2 separate regions of the Homo sapiens genome follow, and region 2 is linked to region 1. Evidence: promoter capture Hi-C in 16 types of primary human blood cells and fetal thymus (Javierre and others, 2016). All regions are on one chromosome and are shown on one strand. The core of a region is centred on a gene start or on the middle of the fragment in contact, and the rest is flanking DNA. Distances in the headings are between cores, read along the strand shown.

Region 1 (4,358 bases), core at 1,044-3,543:
CTTTGAAAATTATTAAGCCAGCAGACGGTGATAGCAGAACATTACCAAACGCAGGGCCCTTCCAAGTGCAAGGCCCTGTGCGGTTGCAGTTTTGTATTTCCATGAAGCTGGCCCTGCCTGGAGCCTCTGGACATCTAGAATGTAGGAGGCTGGGCATCAAGGAGGCCATGAACTCCTGAAATTGTAGGTGGAATTTTGTGTTAATATGTATGCATTTGTCTTTCATATTCCATAGCTTTCATCAGATTCTCAAATTGGTCTGTTACCCTCTTCAAAGGTAATACATGTTCCAACAGAGCCTACAATGTCAGAATATATTGGTAGGGACAAGCATGCTGGTGGTCACTGTGCATGATCCTTCACAAGGCTATATTTGTGAATAAGTAAGTTTTCATGAGTGCATGGGAATTAATGCAAAATCAAGGAATTCTTAACACTGATGAGACGTTGCCAGAAACAAATGCACTCAAGAATGCTTCTTCCTCAGGAGATAGGAAAGCAGATGGTGAGATGGTCAAGATGATCATATGCTTTATAAACCCCAAAGTGATACCCTAATATAAGCCATTTTATTTATTTTCAACCTCTCCCTCTTCCTCTGTAACTGGATGTCACATTTTAGCTTCCTTTAAGGAAAGCATATTTTCATTTACTTTAATTTCTCTAATAGCTGTATGATTTACCAACTCATGGTGATTTACATCTCTTTTATAGATAATTATAGCCCAATGTTAGAAATAGGAGTAAGTGAGGAATTTGTTAATACAGCAGGGGCAGAAGCAGCCCTCAGAATTAGGAAAAGAGTACTGTAAAGACGTGGATCCTGAGAAATACTACCGATGAAATATTGACACACGCGTCGGCCTGGTAAAAACCTCATGCCCATCTCCTAGAAGTCTCACACACAAATATCCCTTCTGCGGAAATGCCTGCTCTTGCAGTTTAGGTGGCTGCCTTAAGTTTTTATTTAGTCCCTTGCCCCCCTTTCTAAATTTTGGACTAACTACACCTGTCAGTCAAATCTCCAGCTCTTATAAATGGGAATATACAGAGATGGGTAATTGAAACCACGGGGTAATTCTCAAATTTCCATTTGCCCAGTGTCAAATTTCTCTCAACCTAGCAAACAGAAAAGCACGATCTACCTGAATTCCCTGGTCACTTTTCTGACCCTACTCTGTCCTTGCTCATCACATAATGGGGGCACTTTACGTGATTCAACGAGTGGCCAAACTCTTGCAGATCCAGCGATAACCTTGGTTGCTCACACCACATAACTCAACCGTGGAAGAAATGGTGCCACCGCTGGCAGGTGAGACGCCTTCCTCTGGTTTGTAGGATACGATTGGGCATGAATTGTTTTAATAGACTGAGACTGCCCCGCGGGTAATTCTACTTGCTAGGAGTGTTGAGCAGCCTTCCTGCAAGCCATCTACTCCAGTTGGGAGTCTGCTGGCACCTGCTCCCCTGCACACCCCCAGGATGCCCAGGCCGCAGGAAGATGTCTAAAACTTCCTACAGGGGCAAAGCCCGCCCTGGCCTCACCAGTCGCCCCAGCGCGCGTCAGCCACGACCCCGGCGAGGCCCAGGTGGGAGGGTAGGGACGTGCGCAGCCTGGGGTGGGGCTGGGGGCTGGCGAGGACCTGCTCCGGGGACCAGGACTGGGCGCCCTGGCGGTCCCAGGCACCGGGAGGGGACCTAGGACCGCTGCCGTTTCACACGTGGCCCCGGCATTTTCGCGCTCTCTCCAGGAATAGCCCCAAGGGCCCAGGAGGCCTGGGTGGGACTCGGCCCCGCGCCTCTCTTCCCGGGTCCCCAGTCCCCAAGGCGCGGCCCCCCACATTAACCTTGCTGGGTCCTTCCCGGCTTTCTGCCCTTTGCAACCCCCGCGCGCCCCACCTTGGCGGGCTCCGCCGACGCCAACCGCGCGTAAACGGCCGGTGACGATTGGGGTGCAGCCGGGGGCAGCTTCAGGGGGCAGAGCCTCCGCAAATGCTTCTCTCCTCCCACCCGGCCTCACACCCACCCTCCTCGAGGTCCCGCCGGGAACCGCCCCGCCCTGCGAACCCAGCCGAGCCCTCCCTCCTGGGCCACCCCCAGTCCGGTCTCTGCTTTTGGAGCGCGTGGGCTCTGCGAGCGCCAGGGCTGGGGACCCTGGAATACCTGTTCCTCCAGCACGAGGATGGGGTCCAACTAGTGGTCCTCTAAATCCTGCTCCTTCCCCGAGGCTACGGGAAGCGCTCCAGCCACAAGGAAACGGCTCCAGTCTTTCGGCTCCCAAACGTGACACTCTATATATCCGGCTCGGAGACTGGGTGTGGGGCGGGAGGAAACCACCCTCCCTCCGACCTTCCCCGGCTCCGCCGCTGCCTCGGCACTGGGCGCGAAACCGGCGGCAGCCTCAGCCCGGGGCGGGAGGAGGGTGAGGGGCCAGCGAAGGCCCTACAGGTCGCGGGGGCGACAGCATCGTGGGCAGGGCGGCCGCGCGCGCAGGCCCGCCCCGCGCTTCCATTCGTTCAGCACCAGCGGATCCACTGGCTATGACTCCCGCATTTGTGTGGTTTGGGGGAGGGGAGTTGGTTTTGGTTTCGGTGGGTTTGGTTTGTTTGTTTGTTTGGGGCTTTTGTTTTGTTTTGTTTTGGGTTTTGGGGTTGGTTTTTTTCTCCATTTTTTAATCAGTGGGCGAGGGGACAAGGAAGCTAGAAAGGCGCCCCTCTCTGGTGTGGGAAAGGAGAACTCCCACACCGTGAAAGGTGGCGGGGTAGGGGGGTGGAGGGAGAGACCGAGACAGGAGAGAGATTCAAAGGTTCTAGTCTGAACTGAACGCTTGGGGGACATACCTTTCCCCACCCACCCTAGCAGAAAAGGCAGCCAAAAATCCCAGTTTACTCAGCTTGACTACACTGCACATCCCGTGGGAGGGATGCTCTTGTATCTGCTAAAGACATTGCGGAGGCGCCCTGCAGTGACCCACGAACGCAGTGGCTTTTTAAAACCCAAGGGCGTGAGGGTGGAGGGTGATGCGAGGACTTCAGGTGAGGCTTCCTCACACTCGGGGTTTGAAGGGCAGAAATCCGGCTCTGCCTGCCTATGGTGGGGTGGGGGTGGGTAGGAGACTAGAAAGGATCAGAGATGGGGGCCGCAGAAACAGCAGTGAGCCAGCTGTGCTCAGCAGCACTTCTCCGGACTTAAAAGAAAAAAAGATGTTTCATTTCTTAGCCTGGTAGCTTTTTTGGGATTTGGTCATTGTTAAATTTTAAACGGAAAAACAAGCTGCCAGGGAAGCCTTGTAGAGGGATGGACAGGCACGTGAGTGGAGCCCTTGGCCTCAACCAGGAAGTGCTGAAAAACGGCCAACGCCCATCCTAATTCCCTGGACAATGTAGGAGGTAAATTTCCAAATAAATATGGTGTGTTAAGAAAAATAGAAAAGAAATATTGTCCTATAAGCTGTTCTGATTCTCCTCATTATAACAATCCACATGCAATTAAAGAAATAAAATTTGACTTTTGAAAGTTAGAATTAAGGAGTGATTTCATGAAATTAAAATAATAACACCCATCTTGAATTCTCTACTACTGGGCTCTTTAATGAAATGTGTTAAGCTAAGTGTAGCCTAAAGGCACTGACTAATTTCCTCTGGTGACCGCCTGAATGCAAGAGACAGAAAAAAAGTTACAACCAAATTTATAGTATTTTTCGTTACCCCTCCCCTCCTCAAGAATAAATTTGAATGTATCTTCAAAATGTGTGTGACAGCACTTCAAATGATAATGTCAAATGCTGGTGAAAACGTATAGAAATCACTTAACAGATAGCAGATGGAAGGTAAATTGTAATCACGCTTTTGTTGGAAAGCAATTTAGCAACACATTCCCAAGGTGTTCAGTAACGAAATTTTTTCTTGTTCTGGACCTAGATTCCCATGTCTTACAATGTATTCAAAGGAGATAATCCATAAAAGAGAAATGCCGCATGTACATAGTTGCATATTTATTACCGAGTTGTTTATAAAGTAGGAAATTAAAAGCATACTTTCAGTGGGATGTTCATAGATAAAATACAACATTAATTATAGATTACAAAACCACAATTTGATTATCACCATTTAAAACGCTATTCATATATGTAGAATGTATTAGTTTGCTAAGGCTGTCATAAGGATGCACATAAACTGGGTGGATTAAACTATAGAAATGTATTATTTCATAATTCTGGAGGCTAGAAGACCAAGATCAAGATGTCTGCAGGGTTGGTTCCTTATGAGGGCTTTGAGAGAGAATTTTCCATGATGCTTACCTACTTCCAGTGGTTTCTTGTTGGCTTGTAGACACATGACCCCTGTCTCCTATAATCT
Region 2 (4,358 bases), core at 524-3,023, 1.6 Mb before region 1:
CAGGATAATTCCATTTGGACTCCTTATTTTTTATTATTATTATTATCTTTTTTTTTTTTTTTAAATTTATTTATTTTTTTTTTTGAGACGGAGTCTCGCTCTGTCGCCCAGGCTGGAGTGCAGTGGCGGGATCTCGGCTCACTGCAAGCTCCGCCTCCCGGGTTCACGCCATTCTCCTGCCTCAGCCTCCCAAGTAGCTGGGACTACAGGCGCCCGCCACTACGCCCGGCTAATTTTTTTGTATTTTTAGTAGAGACGGGGTTTCACCGTTTTAGCCGGGATGGTCTCGATCTCTTGACCTCGTGATCCACCCGCCTCGGCCTCCCAAAGTGGGACTCCTTATTTTTTTTTAAGTTTTTGTGCTATTGCTATGGAAATATTCTGATGATTTACATGGTTGTGCTAGAGTTTTTTAATTTGTCTATTAGAATTGTGAGAACTTCCTTTACAAAAGTGCTCATTTTTATGTAGCTAAGAGACCAGTACAGATCTTCTCCAAAGAATATCATCATCACAAATTAAATAAAAACTTAGCATACAAAAGGATTCACATTTTACTGCTGAAAGTGCCTCCGGATCTAAATCAGCCCATCAATCAAGGCTTTCTTAGACACTGACTAAATGTTTAGCATAATCCTGAGTACTCTGGGGCTGTGGAACTCTGCATCTGCTGAACGCCAGGATCTAATGGGGAGCTTTATCAAATAAACAGGTTCCCGGTGGCTCCACTTCTGAAGATTCAAATTGGTGGCTTCTGGCATGAGGCTCTTGGGAATCTGGTTTTTTTGTTTGTTTGTTTGTTTTTCTTTTTTTGTCTTGTTTTGTTTTTAACATCACAGGTGATTCTGATGATTAGTCAGGACTGGGAACCATACCTGCTGTGGTTCCCAAAATCTGGTCCCTGGACCCACATTATCTGCATCACCTAGCAACTTATTAGAAATGCAAATTCTCAGGGCTGTGAATGGAAAATAAAAATCTCGGGACCCCGAACTCACTATGCCAAAGGGAAAGTGAAGCTTGGGAACTGAGTCACACAAAAGCAATCAAACTGCCTTCCTTTTTGTTCCCAACCAAATAGCTGCAAAATAGAAGGTCACATATCTTCCCAGGGGTCCTCCCTCACAAATTGCTCACAAGGAAATTCCTCGTGGACTCCACATCTTTCAGAATACATATCCCTCCTATAAACTTGCCCTAAAATAGAGTGCTGTTGAATCTTACCCTGACAATGCAAATTAACAGCTTATTTTCACAGGTAAGGGCCAAACATAAGACTAGAAATTCCTCCACCCACCCCAAACAAATGCATAATTGAGTTCTTCCTCTACTCTATGCTTACTTTATCTTATGTAAAATGTAGATATACGCAGCATGAGAAGAATGCATAATTGACTTTAACCCCACCACTCTCTTTTCACATGTAAAATGTGGATTCAGTGAGTAGTTTTTAAGGGCTAATAGAAGCCTCACAAGAATGTAAACATGTTACTGCCTACACCCAGCCTCTTTTTTTTTCTCCTTCCTCTTCTACCTGCTCTTTCCTCTTTAAATATTGAAGTCCTCAAAACCCTCTTTGGAAAAAGTACAGGCCGCAGATTCTACTGTAACTTGTGTTTCTTTTTCCCTGGCCACATCCTCAACCTTGGCAAAACAAACCTCTAACTCGATTGAGATCTGCCTCAGCCACTTTTTGGTTCACAGGCTCTATTCAGACCCACTAAATCATAGACTCTTGAAGTAGGGATTAACAATCTCTGTTTTATCAAGCCCTCCAGGTGATTTTTATGTTTGATACAGTTAAAGAATCATTTCAGATTTTTAATCTACTGAGCTTAATGACCTTTTCTTCATATGAAGATTGATGTCAAAGTTCTTTCTTTCTTTGCTGCAGAGCTAAGGAAATAGGACTTACTTTTTTCTCTTCGATTACCTAGCCAGCCACTATACCCTTCAGGGTTCTCTTATTCTTAATATGCCTGAAAAAGTGTGGAGAGGAAATAGCTTTCTCAACTTCCCACTTCCTTGCTGCTTGGGAAGACAAGAATATATGTAGACAGGCCCTTCTGCTTCCAAGGAAAATAGGAAGGAGATAACAAATGATAACCAATATGAAGATGTGTCAGAAGTTCTGGAATTTTAAAATGACTTTCTGCCCTGGTCTTGTACCCCCGGTTTTTATTCCTGATTATGGAGCTCACACCCTCCCCACTTTCTCACTCCTCCTTTAGCAAACCCTTATGACTCTTCACACCAATTCAAGGTCTAAAAAGAAAATACAGCCAGCCAGAGATGGCCTCTTTCAGCATAAATTTTATTTTTACTTGTTAATGGAAATCTCCCTAAAACAAAATTGTAAGAGTTAAAGAAACAGGAAAGAGACACGAAATGTGGTTTGACAGTAAAGACAGGTTTACTTTTGATAAAACCTGAGAGGGGCTTCTGGCTGACTTTGGTTAGGAGCACTTTCTCTTACAGACTAAGAGAACATATTGGTTTTAGGGTAAGGGGGCTTATTAGAAGCTTGGAATGTTTCTGTGTGAGGGACAAGTTTTATGGTGGGGTTGGAATGTCTCTGGGAGGAGGGGAGTTTATCTTGGGGCAGACATCTTTCTGGCTTGGAGTGGGGTTATCTCGGAGCTGGCATCTTCCTGGCTGGCGGGGGGTTATCTCGGGGCTGGCAAGTCTCTGATTGGGGAGGAGTTTGGAATGTTTCTGGTTGGAGATGTTATTTGTGGTTATTGTGGTTTATGCTGACCTTAGCCATTAGGCTGATACCCTTTGGATTTAGGCGTTTTTTTTTTATTAAGGTGAACTTTAGAATGAGGGGCTTGTCCAAGATGGTGATGCTCCTGCTCTGTCAAAAATTTGTTTACTGTCATCTGGATTTTTGTTGATGGATCATTTAGTATTATTACAATGAACATTAACTGTTATATACTGCAACAAACAATGATGTCATGGACTTTAAAGACTGAAGATGTGTTTAGCCATTAAATGATCTAAGATGTCTAGGATTTTATTTCTTATATTTATATTTCTTTCTTTTCACTACCAAGTGATCAGAAAATCTGCCTAAATACCTTTTCCAATATTAGTTTTTACTGCTTTGAATTTTTTGCTTTTAATTTGTGAGGGCTGGGAAACCAGAAAATACGTTTGTTAAAATTGTGTTTTAAATGAGTACAGCAGATTAAGTTGTGTGATACTCAATGCTGATGAGGTTGTATTAAAGTTAGAACTTCCTGATTATTGTTTGAAAGCATTAATGTAATCCTTTGAGAAAGCAATTTGGCAACATATAACAAGATCCTTAAAATATTTATATTCTTTAATATAATATTCTTTTTTCTAGAATTAACATAAGAACTTAATTTATTGCCAAAGTATTTATCCACAATGAAATTTTAACGTAATTTATAATAAGGGAAAAGTGTAAATGATCTAAATATTTAATAGAAGAGTTTTCAGGTAAATTATAGAACCTTTAATGAAACTGTATATAGTCATTAAAACTGATTATACAAAGATTATGAAATAACTTTATCTTGTGATACATGAATATGATAGAATATTAAATGAAGAAGGTAATTCTCACATCCACTTGAGACCTTAGAAATGATGTAAAAATAATGCGTATTTTATATAAGTTATCTCATTTAAACCTCACAAAAAACCTCTAAAGTGAGTACTATTATTATCTACATTTAATAGATGAGAAAACTGTCACCAAGAGTTTAAGTAACTGGCAAATAATTGTCAGAGCTGAGATTCCAACCCCAGCAATATGGGTCCAAGAACCTGTGCTTATAACCACTGGGCTTTAAGCAGAGACATCTCAGTTTATGCTTGGTGTCCTAGCATGATTATTTATAGTGTCCCATTTCATTCTTAGAAGTCACAATTTGAATGATAAATCATATGGTTACACTAGCTCTACATGAATACATGGCCATGCTAAAAAAATAAGTAAATTATCAATAGATCAGAAACTATGGGGATTTTTTGAGACTAAATCCATGTAGAATCAGAGGAAAGAAGAAACTGGTAACCCAAACCAGCTGAGGGAAAGAAGAGCATGAGCACAAAGAATCAGTGACCAAGTGGGCCTCATGCCTGGAGGCTATCAAAGTCAGGATGGCATCCAGGAGCAATTGGTGTGGGAAGTAGTGGGTTACTATAGCAAGAATAGTGAGTTCAGTTGTAGTAGATTGCAAAAATGCTCACAATACATCTCCAAACAAGAGAGTAGGGAGATGTGTTCCCACCCCTTTGAATCTGGGTTGGCCCTGTGGCTCTCTCTGACTGAAAGAATGTGATAGAAGTGACACTGTGTGAATTCTGGACACTGCCACCAA

The links. Contacts are between HindIII fragments. The CHiCAGO score rates a contact against its expected background, and 5 or more counts as called.
Region 2: a fragment that was not itself captured here is called in contact with the fragment with the promoter of FAR2 in region 1 in 1 of 17 cell types (erythroblasts); the score reaches 5.8 in erythroblasts.

Annotation. Positions count from the first base shown.
Region 1 is chr12:29,147,213-29,151,570 of GRCh38, reverse strand. FAR2 (fatty acyl-CoA reductase 2) reads right to left here and starts at 2,293. Exons shown (of 12, transcript NM_001271783.2): 1 at 2,164-2,293. RefSeq lists silencers at 1,926-2,075, 2,386-2,445. The HindIII fragment of the contact is 9,301 bases long and covers 1-4,358 here.
Region 2 is chr12:30,782,746-30,787,103 of GRCh38, reverse strand. No RefSeq gene overlaps it. Among named protein-coding and RNA genes, the nearest start is that of LINC00941, 11 kb to the left of the region's middle. RefSeq lists an enhancer at 1,114-1,615. The HindIII fragment of the contact is 1,504 bases long and covers 1,022-2,525 here.